Linked DNA regions of Homo sapiens: all the other regions are linked to region 1. Evidence: promoter capture Hi-C in 16 types of primary human blood cells and fetal thymus (Javierre and others, 2016). All regions are on one chromosome and are shown on one strand. Each heading gives the region's core, a stretch centred on a gene start or on the middle of the fragment in contact. The rest is flanking DNA. Distances are from core to core; before and after follow the strand shown.

Region 1 (4,613 bases), core at 829-3,328:
TTCCCAGAGCAAGCAATGCTCATCCTACCATTGCTTATGTTTATGTACAATTTAAGAGGACCAAATGGCTTCGTCGCACTGTGGAGTGTCAATGCTGGTGTCATTAACATACAATTATACATGCGTGGAGCAGATCATCGAGTACCTGTCCTCTTAATAAATCACATCATGAAAAGCTATGGTTTAGATGTCACTTTCATTTCATAAAATGATTCACCACAGTATGTCTTAAAAGCTAGTTTTGCTCATGCATTTAGTCTACAATTCCACTGATAGAGATGTGATTGCCTCGCAACTTGTCAGAAACACATCCTCTGAATAAAACATGGTACTCCTCCCAGCCACAGAATGCCAACCTTGATCCAGATCTATTTTGGGCGCTTGGCTCCTAGAAATGAATGAAAGTCGTTGTTGAGGTGGAATTTTGCTTCAGGTCCTGTGGGACTTGATGAGGACATTCTTCCCAGCACAAGAAGCTGACCAGGGACAGGGTGCCACAGCTGAGTGTGTTACTGAGGATAAACATATTTAAACCGCTGTTTGTGGACAGTTCCCCTCCTCCTTTACTGTCAACATATATCATAAAATAAATCCTTTCATTTCATCTTAGGAAGGCAAGATATTCAGGCTAGTGATGAAAGAACAGTAAGGAGAGACTTGATAGCCCAGACCAGTAGCAGCTAAACTAACCTTGAAAGCAGAAGAAAAAAAAAAGAGAGCCACTAAGCCACCGAGTGAGAATGGGTGGCAGGAAGAGTTAGAGAGATCCTGCCCATTCGCATTTCCTTCTCTTCACTCTCTCTTCAGCCTGTCTCTTGACAAGAGTGTCCCGGTTCACCCATCGCAAATCTCCACTTACCATGACAGGCATGAGGATGGAATGTCCTATCTCGAGACACCTACAGGCTAACTGAGGAATAGAAATCAGGGAGGGAAGCAGCTCCTAGGTCTTACAGTTTAATGATTACACCGCCGTTTTCAGCCCCTGACTTCATTAAATTCAGGGTAAGGACGACCCACACGACGTCCTTCTCGTGCCAGGTACTTGGCAAGTCAGAACCAGTCGCCGCTGTGTCCTCCCGGCAAGATGAGCGCAGGTTTCAGAAGCCCCAGCTCTGGAAGTTTGCTGTGCCAGGCTCCTCGGAGCAGCACCACTGCCCCAGACGAACACGCACACACACGCACTCACACACACACACACGCACACGCACGCACACACACACACACGCACGGCTCATTGGACACTTGCCCTGCCACCCCCGAAAGCACAGCGCCGAGGAAAGGCCGGTTCCGGCCGCGAAGGCAGCAGGTGTCCCCTGACCCTTTCCCTCCGCCCTCCAACCCCAGCCCCATCCCTAGCTGAGTTCCTATGGACGCCCCCCAAACTCGCAGTTCTCGGGCAGAATTGCGACCAAGAAATAAAAGACAAAATGAGCAGACTTACCTAACTCGTCTGGGCTGTAGGATGCGGGCGAGGCTTCCACAAACTCACTGTCTGGGGGAGAAGAAAAGCAGAAAACAACTCGAATCGCTACCATTCAGGACGAACCCGCACAAGCACCAGCTCAAGCGCAGGTCCCCGGGAAAAGCGCGGGCTTCTCTCTCCCAGCGCTCAGAATCCCTGAGCCGGAGGCCCCGCGGGATTCAGACCGCCAGATCCCCAGGGAGTGACAAATCGCCGCAGAAACTTGGGGGACAACTCGGCCCTGGCACCGCGCGGCTTCCAGGCGCGGTCAGGCGCGCGCCAACTTTCCCCGCGTGCCACCCCGCGGCTCCCCCGGCCGGGCGCTGGGCCGCGGCCGCATCCTCTGCCCTCAGCCCGCGGGGCGCATTGCTCTGTCTGCCGGGCCTGGCGCCGACGCCCCAGCGCCGAGGAGCCGCGAAGTTTTCCCGCGGTCCCGGGGGCCCGAGGGCGCGCGGCGGCGGCGGCGAGCACCCCTCGCCCACCCAGGCGCCCCGCGCATCCCCGCTCGTTGCTAGGCGACCGTGGCCGTCACGCTCCGCAGAGGCGCGCGCGGCCTCCCAACTCCCGGCTGGCGGAATCCTCCCTAGTCCCCGCCCCGTTTGCCCATTTTCCAAAAAATCAGAGCATAACCCGTTCTAACCCGATTCCCTGCTCTGTTATGTTATGTCTGCCCTCCTCTGATGCTTGGGAAATCGTTTGTTCTGTGGGCTTCTCCTGAGGAGATGGACGATTTTCAGAGCTTGCAGAAAGGTAGGAGGAGACCCAAATGCCCCCCAATCCCCTCCTTTTGGAACCAGAATTCCAACTCCAGTCCAACATTATTTCCTACTCTTCAAGAGATCACCTGGCTCAAGTGGGCAAAGTAATATGAGCTGCATTGCACAGGTTGGGAAACCGAGGCTGAGAAGTTGTTAATTTATGCGTGACATCATTATGGTAGGGGTATGTGAGGGAGAAGTGGGGGAGGAGAGAAGAGCAGTGCTCCTTCTACTCTATAAAAGATTGACTGCTTTCAAATACAGAATGTAGAAGCAATGGTTATGCTCTGAGAACTGTAAATTCTAAAATAATTAATGTAACACTGTGAGAACCTCCCCCTCTGAGTCAGTAGCCTGATAACTTGGACAGATGTGTTATGTATCTCCCCCCAGCCCCCAGGACTGACTGTGACTGCTCTGCATTAAGGGGGCGAGGGTGCTGGACTTGGGGTGTGCTCCAGAGAGAGCCCCGCAGCTGATGGCCCATAACAGGGTCAGTGGGAAGGAAGGAACAAGTATGGAAATGGTTGTCCTTTCTCCATCCTTGGAGGACTATTGGAGGGTCAACAGTCTGGGCAGCCTCCTGGGGGCCTTCTATTGTCTCAAAGTGATCAGAGCACCAGCTGCAGCAGCCTAAGGGCCCCGATCTGAGCCAATGTGCTCTCATCCTGTAAACACTCAGCCATCTCTGGCTTTTCCACTGTCAGTTTTTGGTTTACAAATCACCATGAAGGACAGAAAGCCCCTTCGGCCAGCATTGCTTAGGGAGCCCAGGGAAGCAGGGGTGGGGCTGTCCTCCCCAAGCAAGGCAGCATTCTTGAGCTGCTGAGCCTATCTCTCCAACCTCTTCTTTTTCCTGCTTCTTATAATCTGAGCTCCCAAATCCAGGAATTAAATATGTTTGGGTGAGGGTTTGCACTCATCACTCCATCCCCTCCCAACTCCTAGAATCCTCCCATTTGTCCTCTGGAACTCATGGTTCATCGCTAGCAAAATCTATATATCCTCAGCCTCCTCTCTGAATGTTTCTTTCAGTGTTGTGCTCTGACCCATACCTGGCTTTCCTTGAAAATAACAGGCTGCATTACTTGCCTCCTCTACTTATTTCAGCCATCTATGGATCCTCTGGTTGTTCTACCTCATTTCTTGAAGATAATGGCATCTGATTCACTGTCACTTTTCCCAGTATCATTCCTGTGATTATTCTTATTTTTCTCCATCTACATAGTCACACTCTGATCTCTCAACTCTTCTGCATCTTATCCCTTTCTTGACCTGCTCCAACCACACCAGCCCCCTGCTGTCATAGCGACACCATGCATAATATCAAGGTGAAGTAATCCACTCTCCTACCTTTCCAGCTTATCCCCTCTGTTATTTTAATCCAATGTGTCCTTGACCCCACCAGCATCTATAATTTACTTATCCATGACCTTTTCTCTGCCCCTCACTCTCCTCATGACCCTCCTTCCTTCCTTATGGACTTTAGTTTCCAGTTTCATTATTATTTCTCTCTTACTTACACCTTCAAATCCATGTTCTGCTCTCTTTCCATGCTATTTACCTGGTGAAAACACAACCCTAGTAAAATATAACTCTCCACCTTCTTTCCATCTACACCCAGCTAAACATGATTGAAGAAGCACAAAATTGGCTGGGCATGGTGGCTCACATCTATATTTCCAGCACTCTGGGAGGCTGAGGTGGGTGGATCACCTGAGGTCCTGAATTTGAGACCAGCCTGGCCAACATGGTGAAAACCCATCTCTAGTAAAAATACAAAAATTAGCCAAGTGTGGTGGCACATGTCTGTAATCCCAGCTACTCAGGAGGCTGAGGCAGGAGAATCGCTTGATACCAGGAGGTGGAGGTTGCAGTGAGCAGAGATCACGCCATTGCAGTCCAGCCTGGGTGACAGAGCAAGACTCCGTCTCAAAAAAAAAAAAAAAAGCACAAAATTATGCTCTCTGGTCTTATTTTCGATTCATGTCCACTAAAATCAAATGGAGCTAGTGCAGCCCAGCAATCACTCTGCATTTGCCTGTTTATTTACTCTCCCGCTCTCTTGTTGCTATGGATGAATCATCTAAGGCCATTATGGCCTCCTGTATGGATCAGATCCCATTTATGTGGCTTTTCCCTCTTCCCACCTGGATTAATATTTTCTTCTGTCCTTGATCACTCCTGTCAGTATACAGACATACTACTATGATCCTGTCTTTTTAAAAATCCTTTCTTGACTCTATGTATCTCCAGCCATTACTCCAATTCTCATCTCCCCTTTACAACAAAATTCATTAAAATAATTGTCTACACTGATAGCACCCATTCTCCATTTTGCTCTTACAAGCAGCCTAAATAGGTTTCTACCTCACTCTGCCAGAGTAGCT
Region 2 (4,613 bases), core at 1,282-3,781, 1.7 Mb before region 1:
CATAAAAAGAGAAGCATAAGTGTTCTTAAATTTTTACTTTGCTTTATAAAAATTAAAAATGTATGATAGTAAAGTACATTTTATGTATGGTTGCAAAAGCAATCTGAATTTGCTAAGTCCCTCTAGTTTACATTTGATGCAGTCAAGGACTTTTCGTCACAATCAGAAGAAGCATTAGAAAGAAAAAAATCTGTCCAGAATTATGGGGTGTTTCTAATTATTCCTAAATAATTCACAAATGTTAGTAAATGCAGAGATTCCGTTTGAATGGGAGCCCTGCTGAGCTAAAGGCCTCAGAAAGATAACAGGGTAATGAGTGCCCTCTAGTGGTAAATCAAAGCTTTTGACTTGTAAACAGAACAGAGAGAGAATGTCGTTTTCCTCATTTTGCTGCTTAAGCTGTACTCTGCGGACGAAGGGGAAAATGTTGAATCTCAACATTCTAAGACTCCTTTTTCCTGTGCCTGAAACTTGTTTATTTGATACTTAAAAGTATTAAGCAATTCAATTCTCCTCACGTAAGAATAATAGATGTTATATGTCTATTACTTTCTTATCCTAAAGCTGTCACAAGTATATATTCAATTTTATTTTTAAAAAGAAATAAAATTTTTACCCCGGGGATGTAGCTTGAAGAATAATTTGCAATTTAGATTTTGTTTGTATTGATTACAGGTCAGCACAATCACCAAGAAGAAATATCTAAGTAGTTTCCAACTCCTGATATTTCCAAAATGATTACAGATTTTATTATTCAAGGTCACAGTCACCTCATTTTACCAGTGTCAATGAAAACCTGATGTTATCTGTTAATTAAGAATCTCCATGGCGGCCGGGCGCTGTGGCTCACGCCTGTAATCCCAGCACTTTGGGGGACCGAGGCAGGCAGATCACCTGAGGTCAGGAGTGCACGACCAGCCTGGCCAACATGGTGAAACCCCGTCTCTACTAAAAATACAAAAAATTAGCTGGGCGTGGTGGCGGGTGCCTGTAATCCCAGCTACTTGGGAGGTTGAGGCAGGAGAATTGTTTGAACCTGGTAGATGGAGGTTGCAGTGAGCCGAGATCGCGCCATTGCACTCTAGCCTGGGGCAACAAGAGAGAAACTCGGTCTCAAAAAAAAAAAAAAGAATCACCATGGCAATGAAAATGGATATCTTAAGTGCTGCTGCTGCCGCCGCTACCACTGATGCCACTGCAATTTATGTGTGAGTTCCAAGTGCCCTCTACTGGGCAAAATACAGTGGGTGAACAAGCTGTCTGGATTCTAGTCTGGATCAGCCCTCTCCCCTTGGAGTTCCTAATCAAGCTGAAATACCATTTTAAAAATGTAAAAGCTCAACCTATGTAAAGACCATAGGATCAGACTTTATGCTAAAATCGTGGAAGGAAAAAATCATTAAAGCTTTATTGTATATGGATGAATAGTTTGCAAATACCATGCTTTTCCTTTTTACTCAAATCTCATTTCAAATACGATTGCCTCCATGAGAAATTAGAAGCTATTAGAAAACAAGTCATGGACAATATTTTAAAACCTGACTTTTCTTCTCGGCACTTAGATAAATTTCTTTTTCTTTTTCTTTTTTTTTTCTTTTTTCTTTCTTTCTTTTTTTTTTTTTTTTTTAACTTAACAGGCCTGGAATCCAACTTGTGCAGGTTTTCCACCCCCTGGGGAGATATAGAAAGTCTGCTGAAGTTCTCGCTAAGCTCCCAAAAAGGCAATGCCTCCCCTGTGTAGTTGAAAACGTTAACATTTGCAATTATCAGCTCAAGTTTTAGGATAGAGTAAAGTGATCTAGTCTTGGAGAGAAAGGGTAAGAGGGCTACTTTTTGGCTTCCAGGAGTTAGACAGTACTCTGGTAATGGCAGGAGCTATTATTAATCCTCTTGGTCAAACTTCCTTCTGTATGCCTGGGATCACGCCCTTATGAACCCCAGTCCACTTTGTTGGGTTTTTTTTCCCTCCTCCCATGATCTCTCTAAGCTATTAAAGCCCTAAATTCATTCGTTGGAGTTCTGGGGGGAAAAACGGTCCTTTTTTGTAAAATGAAGGAGAAAGACAATCTATAGTCCCTGAATTCAAGAGCAAAGCATCTTTTGTCTACAAACCCTTTTCTTCCGAGAATTGTATGTATTACCAAAGCATGAGATCATAGCCCAGCTCCTAGTAAGTCAAAAGAAATATATCTGCATAAATAGAAATTCAAATAAACTACTTCCAACAGGGTTTAAACTATTTGTTTAGCTTCTAAAATATTAACAAAATAATCTGAAATATGATGACTTCTGTACGTGTTGCCTTTCTGTAATAAAAGTGTTATGGGCTGAATCATGTTCCCTCAAAATTCATATGTTGAAGTCCTAATCCTCAGTACCTCAGAAGGTAATCCTATCTTTATAAAGGTCATAAAGTTGAAATAAGGTAATTAGGGTGGGACTTTATCCCATATGACAGGTATCCTTAAAAGAAAAGAAGATTTGGATACACACACACTCAGAGGGAGGAGCATGGGAAAACACACGAAGACAGCCACCTGCATGCCAAGAAAAGAGGTGTCAGAAGAAACTGACCGAGCTGATTACTTGATCTCAGACTTCTAGCTTCCAGCATTGCGAGAAAATACATTTCTGTCATTTAAACCACCTAATCTGTAGTACTTTATATGACATCTCCAGTAAACTAATACAAAAAGTGAGGTTGGCATTACTTCCATGGCTCTAAACTGTCAGGATAAATATGTCAGCATTTCTGTTAGCCTTTGCCTCAAGATTTTTGCCTCCAGGTGGATATCCAACTAATATAGCTCCAGGCATCATGTCTAAACTCAAGAAAGAAAGAGGGGAGAAAATACCCTTCTTTTTATCAAAAACTAATTATTTTTAAAGGATCCTTTCTGTTGCAAGTACCTGAAAACTCAAGACTCAAACTCAGAATTTATTAGCTCAAGAATTAGAAAATCCGGGGTTGCACCAACATTAGGCATGGCTAGACTCAGAGATCACATACATTATCTGGATTGAGATTCTCCATATCTTTTTATTTTTCTGTCTTTGTACTGCTTTACTTTTCTGCTCATGCTTATCACTAGAAATTCCAGGCTTTTTCCTCATGGCAACAAGATTCTGGCTGCTATAGCTTTAGCAACACAGTCTTTCAAGATCCAGTCTAGCAAAAATGAGTTCCTGTCTCCCAGAATCCCTACGTACAAACACACATATGATGCTTCTTTCTTGGGCACACCCTCATGGTGTAATTATGTAAAATGCCTCTTCATACTCTTTTATCTTAGCCTAAGCACTAGGAAGTCTGTATTTACGTAATAATGTTGATAATTATCAACATTGTAAAGAGTAAAGGGCTACTCTTTATTAAGCACTTTATTCCAAGCATGGTTCAGTATCTCCTTGAATCATCACACTATCTAATGTAACAAGAACAATTACCCCACTTCCAAAATATTACTGAATATTTTTTAAAACTTTTTAAGAAGTAACTAGTCATGAATAGGTCAAATAATTTGCCACATATCACTAAGATAGAAAATAGAGCCAGGAATTAAATATACTTTTGTCAGTGTCTAAAATCTTCAAACTCTTAACCACGATCTGAATCCACTTGATTCCATATTGTTTTTCAGAAAGGATGAAGCTTCTAGCTCTTTGTCTCCATTTCAAGAACTTCCCCTGCAATCACTTCTACCCAGTCAACCAATTCCCACTTACTCGGACTATGCCTATTATCAATTCTTCAATCATGAAAGGTTAATTTTTAACAAATAAATGCTCCCTTCTTCCCCAACCACTCTAATTTTAGGAAAGAAAGATTTCCGCTTATCCTAGTAATGAGAAGCATTTGAATTCTACATAGTCACTCAAACCCCTGCCCCTTTACAAGCTAACCCATCTTTTTAAAATTTCTCTGACTTTTTTATTATGCAGTTTTACTCTCTTTGAAGCATATTTAGAAGTCAGTCCTTGAAAAACACTGGCATGCAAAACAATTGAAAATAAATAGACAGCAATTATGCCAATAGATAAGGATAAAAATGAGGGTCCCATTTTACATTGCCTTCTTTTCAGCAAAGATCTATTTTCAGTGCAGAGGTCAGATGAATTCAATAGTATCTCTCTGCTGAAATCAGAAGCTAGCTGGCATCATCAGCACCAAGTAGAGCATGGAGCTGAGTGCACTTACAAAGCATGTTGGAAGATATGGACCCTGTCTCTTTAGAGATGACAAATCAAGAGGATACACAATCTTATTTGATGGGTGCTTTACTCAAGGCCACATCAGCTAGGAGATACAATTTGGAACTAAAATGATGTTAAAATATAATTTAGCCTCATCTGAAGGTTTGAAGGAGTCCATCTGTACCCCAATTACCCCCTCAAGCAGAGGTGCCCTTCCTCTAAGATCATTTATGTAAGTGTAACCCCCATTAGATTAAGTGGTCCATGAGGACAGTGGCTACATTGTATTTCTTGTTAAATGTGGCTGGCCTGTGGCTGCAGAGTAACCATCATACAGAGGATCTGTGTTAATCGGGATAGGCTAGGTCTTTTTATTGTAACAATAAACCTGGTAGGCTAAACACAAAAAGTAGTTTATT
Region 3 (4,613 bases), core at 692-3,191, 1.7 Mb before region 1:
AAGTATTAAACTCAGGCCTAGAGCTATGGGGAGAAGCCTGACTACTGTTGCTTAGAGATAGAAACTTCAAAGGCAAGGGTCCAGATTCCGTGATCATAATAAGATTTCCGACATTTCTTACAAGCTAATGAGGCACCTCCAGATCAAACCCACCAGCAACATGGTAGTATGTTAAAGAAGTTTAATTGCCAGAGAAAATTCAAACCTGGTCAAGAAGGTCCTGTGATTGCTCAGCTCCTAAAGCAATTCCTAGACTAATATAAACTTGCCAACAGACCTCATTCAGCTAAAGCAGTGAAGCCCTCATGTAATTAGGTACAACTCTTGACTACAAATGACAGTATACTGCTTAAGCAATAAGAGAATATTTTGAACTCATTCAGCTGAAAATTACATAAGAAACACTGAATTGTGACCCAGCTGGATGAAATGCACAAATGCTGGCATTGAAGCTCTCTCACTCTCTCCACGTAGCAGGCACAGGGTCTCCAGGGCCCCAAGACTCACAACCCACCAACCTTACAGCTGCAGTCATAAGAGAACATATTCTCCAAAAACCCCTGAAAAGGAGTTCTGAGGAGGAGTCTGACCCTCTGGTTTAGGTTCATGTGCCCATCCCTGTAGCTGGGAGAAGAAAGAGAAGAATGGGAGGTTTGGTAGGCAGAAGGGGTGTAGCTATGTCTCAAATATATGGAATGTGTTTCCTTTAGAGAGGCGAGATTTTGTGATCAGGAGAGGACTGTATGCTGGGAGACAAAATAAATAGAGGTCTTCAACACTTCAGAAGGTGAATCCTCATTGATGCCACTCTTGGGAATTGCCACTGGAAATCACAGACCAGGAAGATACTCCTGGCAAGCAGAACCTGAACAAAAATCAAGTCTATCCTAATACAGGAAATCAGACCACTACTAGGGCAAAGAGATCTTTGACATACCTATCTAGCAAATGTAATACAACCTGCAGGAGAGCAACTTCACTGTATTCATTCCCTTCTATAAAACAGAAAAAAAAATCATAGTTAAAAATGAGTGAGGGCAAATTCTGCAATATCATAGGTAAGTTTATAAGCAACTGGATTTATTGGGAAAACATACAAATCAAGGATTAAATTTAAGAGGCATATAGTCTGCATTGTCTTATTATCACAAAGAGAGGTCTAAAAATCAGTTCAGCATACTGATGGACACACCCCAGGTCCCTGCCCCCAGGAGAGGGATCCTGACTCTCCACTGTCATAACATGCAATCATGATAAATTTCAGATATGGGGTATAAATACAAAGGATGTAGACACCAAGTTGTCTGAGTATAAATGCCAACATGGCTAGGAGCCGTCTGAGAATGCTAGCTGCCATCACCTGATAATTTCTGAGTGGTGGGATGCTGCTGCTGCTGCCATTCCTGCTGCTGGAAAGGGGTTCCTGTTACAGTGGATAATTGGGTTCAGGCATAGCCCTTCCCTCTGGGAGAGGGCCAGCCTCTGCATCTAACTTGCTGAATAACCGTTTTCCTTCCAACATTCAATTTGGCATCTAGCCTTCAGTTGCAGGGTCAAGAAGAGCCACATTCAAACCTGACTATATGAAATAATTATCACCCAGAGATATTGGACTTGGAATAGAATAGAGAAACCAAATGCTATTTCTACGCCATCTCCATTTAGAGAGAGTGTAAGTAGGGGCTTTTGCTCTTATTCTTGGTGTTGAATGTGGGATCATTTGTAATGTTACTTGGGATGTTATTAGAACTGAGACGGAAATGCAGGTTTGCTGTAGGGGGGTCACAAACAGTGATATGCTGGGCAGCCCAGGCATAGCAAATTGTGGGCAGTGGCAGCTATTGGTTTTGGCTGTCCCACAGGGTTCCAGTGGGGATTTTCCCCATCCTCATCCTCTGGATAAGAGGACCAAGGGAAGGCCTAGTTATTCCTTTTTTCTGTAGATACAGTGATTGGGTGACTCAGAGGCTGATGTGTAGCCTAAGCAACTCCAGTTAGAATAATTCCCTGAAATTAACTGCAAGGTATATCTTGTCACATCCCTGCTCAGAACTTTATAGTGACTTCCCATCAGAGTCAAATCCAAACTCCTTACCATAGCCGATGAGAACCCGCATGATCTAGCCCCAGTTTCCACTGTCTTTTCTGCTCCTCATCACTTGCCACCTGGCACCTTGTCAACACACTCCGGCCATACTGTTTTTCTCTTAGTTCCTATAACATGCCAGGCTCTTTCCCACTTCAAGGATGTTTTCTTTGCCTCAAATTTTCTTCCCTTTGACTCTTTTTCTTTTTTGTAACTTTTTTAAAAATATAATTTCAAATTTAGAGAAAAGTTTAAAGAATAGTAAAATGAATTCCTGTATTCCTCTTGGATATTGTAATTGTGAATGTTAAATTGTGTGTGTAGATTCTTGCTCCTATTTTAATCCTCTTGAGATTGTTAATGTTTTTGTTTTAGCAAGCAAAAAACCTGGGTATATTCAGACTGTACTGTTTCTCACCTTTTGTGAGCCCTGATTTTAATCTTCATTTAGCTCGAAATCATCACTATGTTGGTCTACATTTGTCCTATGAATGTGTTATTTAGGGGTTAGGCTGAGACTTCTATAAGCAGTTCCAGTCTCAGTTCAGTTTTCAAAGCCTTAGCTATGCTGAATTGGGCCTGTTCTGTGCATGTATAGTTTATGGGTTAGACTGAGACTTTGTGCAGGTTTGCATGCAGTTAGGGAATCCTTTTCTCTGGATCCCTCCTCTCTGGGATTCTCCACACACCGCCATACTCCCAGACTCAGAAATGCTCCTTTTCCTTATACTCCGTTCAGAAAAAATATGGTTTCTATTAGAGTTTCAGCCATTCACTCATGTCAGCACTAAGAAGATATTATCCCATTGTTACCTGGTTTCTATTGTTTCTATTGAGAAGTTATCTGTTATTCCATTGGTTACATCTTTACAGGTAATATTCTTTTTTTTCCTGGCTGCTTTCAAGATTTTCCTTTAGCATTGCACTATAATATATTTAGGTGTGGGTATCTTTTTATTTATATTTCTTGGGATTCATTAAGCATCTTGAATTTGCAAACTGATGTCTTTAATCATTTCAGAAAATTCTCAGCATTATTTCTTCAAATTCTGCTGCATCCTCTCTCTGCTTTCTATCTGAGACTCCAATTAAACAAGGGTTAGACCATCTTACTCTATATGTCTCTTACTCTCCAGATTTTTTAATCCCTCTGTGGATTTTTTTTACAATTAAATAAAATTGGCAATGAATATTTTCTTCTGACATGTTCCAGTTCACCAATTTTCTCTTTGGTTATGCATAACTGAGCTAAATACCTTAGCAATTTTTGTTATGTTTTTCTTTTAGAAATAGAAACTCTAATTCTTTTTCAATCTGAAATTATGTGTTTTATCATTTTAAGTAACTTGCTAGAATTTTTAGATTTGGATTTTGATTTCTAAACCATTGTAAAATACCGATTTTACAAAGGATGTGTGATAATTCCACTATCTGGAGTACCTCTGGGTATGTTTCTCTTAACTTTTTGCACTTTATCTTGCTTACGTTGTCTTTCCTTCTCAGATATTTGATTATCTTTGATTGTATCCTGAACATGGCATTTGAAAAATTATTGTAAAAACAATCTGAGACCTCAGGTAATGTTATCTTCCTCTAATGTGGAATTTTGTCTGCTTCTGCCAAGTACCTGGAAGGTCTAGCAATCCAAGATTACCTTAATTCAAATTTTATGATTTGACATTTTCTGGACCACTTACATTACACCATACTCATCTATATCTGTGAATGGGCTGATTTAGTTATGGCTTCCTTAATACCCACGGTACATCCACTTGAGATTGCCACCCTGTGAAGATGTTCATTAGATCTCAAACTCTGACATATTCTCAACTCCAACTTTTGTTCCACTTACATCTCAAAAATATTTCAAAAGTGCTGGTTAACCTCTTTGTTGTCTCTTTCAAAGTGGCAAATGCCTGAAGAAAAACAATATAGCTTCAAATATTATGCTTGCTATTTCTTTTTTTTTTTTTTGAGACAGAGTCTTTCTCTGTTGCCCAAGCTGGAGTGCAGTGGTGTGATCTCAGTTCACTGCAACCTCCACCTCCCAGGTTGAAGTGATTCTTGTGCCTCAGGCTTCCAAGTGGCTGGGATTACCAGTATGTGCCACCATGCCTGGCTAATTTTTTTCATTTTTAATAGAGATGGGGTATTACCATGTTGGCCAGGTTGGTCATAAACTCCTGGCCTCAAGTGATCTGCCCACCTCGGCCTCCCGAAGTGCTGGGATTACAGGTGGGCTCACCTTTTTTTTGATTCTTCCTTTCCCAGATGTCATCTCAAAAGTTTTTCTACACTATTGTTTTTATTAAAAGATTGTAAATATTTTGTCCAGATTTTAAATCTTCTTCAGAAGTAGAATTTGTCTGAATTAACTAGTCCTCAGCAAGTAACTGTTTTTATTAAAATTGGAAGTCAGGCATAGAAACAAAAACCTAGGGAATACACCAAAATAGAATGCTTAGAATAGATATATGATCAGATCCTTAGAGTCAACTTGAGTTCACTTAGCCAATGAACCTGGAGA

Evidence for each region. Contacts are between HindIII fragments. The CHiCAGO score rates a contact against its expected background, and 5 or more counts as called.
Region 2: a fragment that was not itself captured here is called in contact with the fragment with the promoter of PIWIL4-AS1 in region 1 in 1 of 17 cell types (non-activated CD4 T cells); the score reaches 5.2 in non-activated CD4 T cells.
Region 3: a fragment that was not itself captured here is called in contact with the fragment with the promoter of PIWIL4-AS1 in region 1 in 1 of 17 cell types (naive CD4 T cells); the score reaches 5.6 in naive CD4 T cells.

Annotation. Positions count from the first base shown.
Region 1 is chr11:94,737,820-94,742,432 of GRCh38, reverse strand. PIWIL4-AS1 (PIWIL4 antisense RNA 1) reads left to right here and starts at 2,078. Exons shown (of 5, transcript NR_135093.1): 1 at 2,078-2,215. It also overlaps a transcript of AMOTL1 not described here. The HindIII fragment of the contact is 14,674 bases long and covers 1-4,613 here.
Region 2 is chr11:96,460,629-96,465,241 of GRCh38, reverse strand. All of the region lies in intron 1 of JRKL-AS1 (JRKL antisense RNA 1), which reads left to right. Among named protein-coding and RNA genes, the nearest start is that of JRKL-AS1, 44 kb to the left of the region's middle. The HindIII fragment of the contact is 2,247 bases long and covers 1,408-3,654 here.
Region 3 is chr11:96,440,301-96,444,913 of GRCh38, reverse strand. It overlaps JRKL-AS1 (JRKL antisense RNA 1), which reads left to right. Exons shown (of 5, transcript NR_047481.2): 5 at 1,539-1,633. Among named protein-coding and RNA genes, the nearest start is that of JRKL, 53 kb to the right of the region's middle. The HindIII fragment of the contact is 5,718 bases long and covers 1-4,613 here.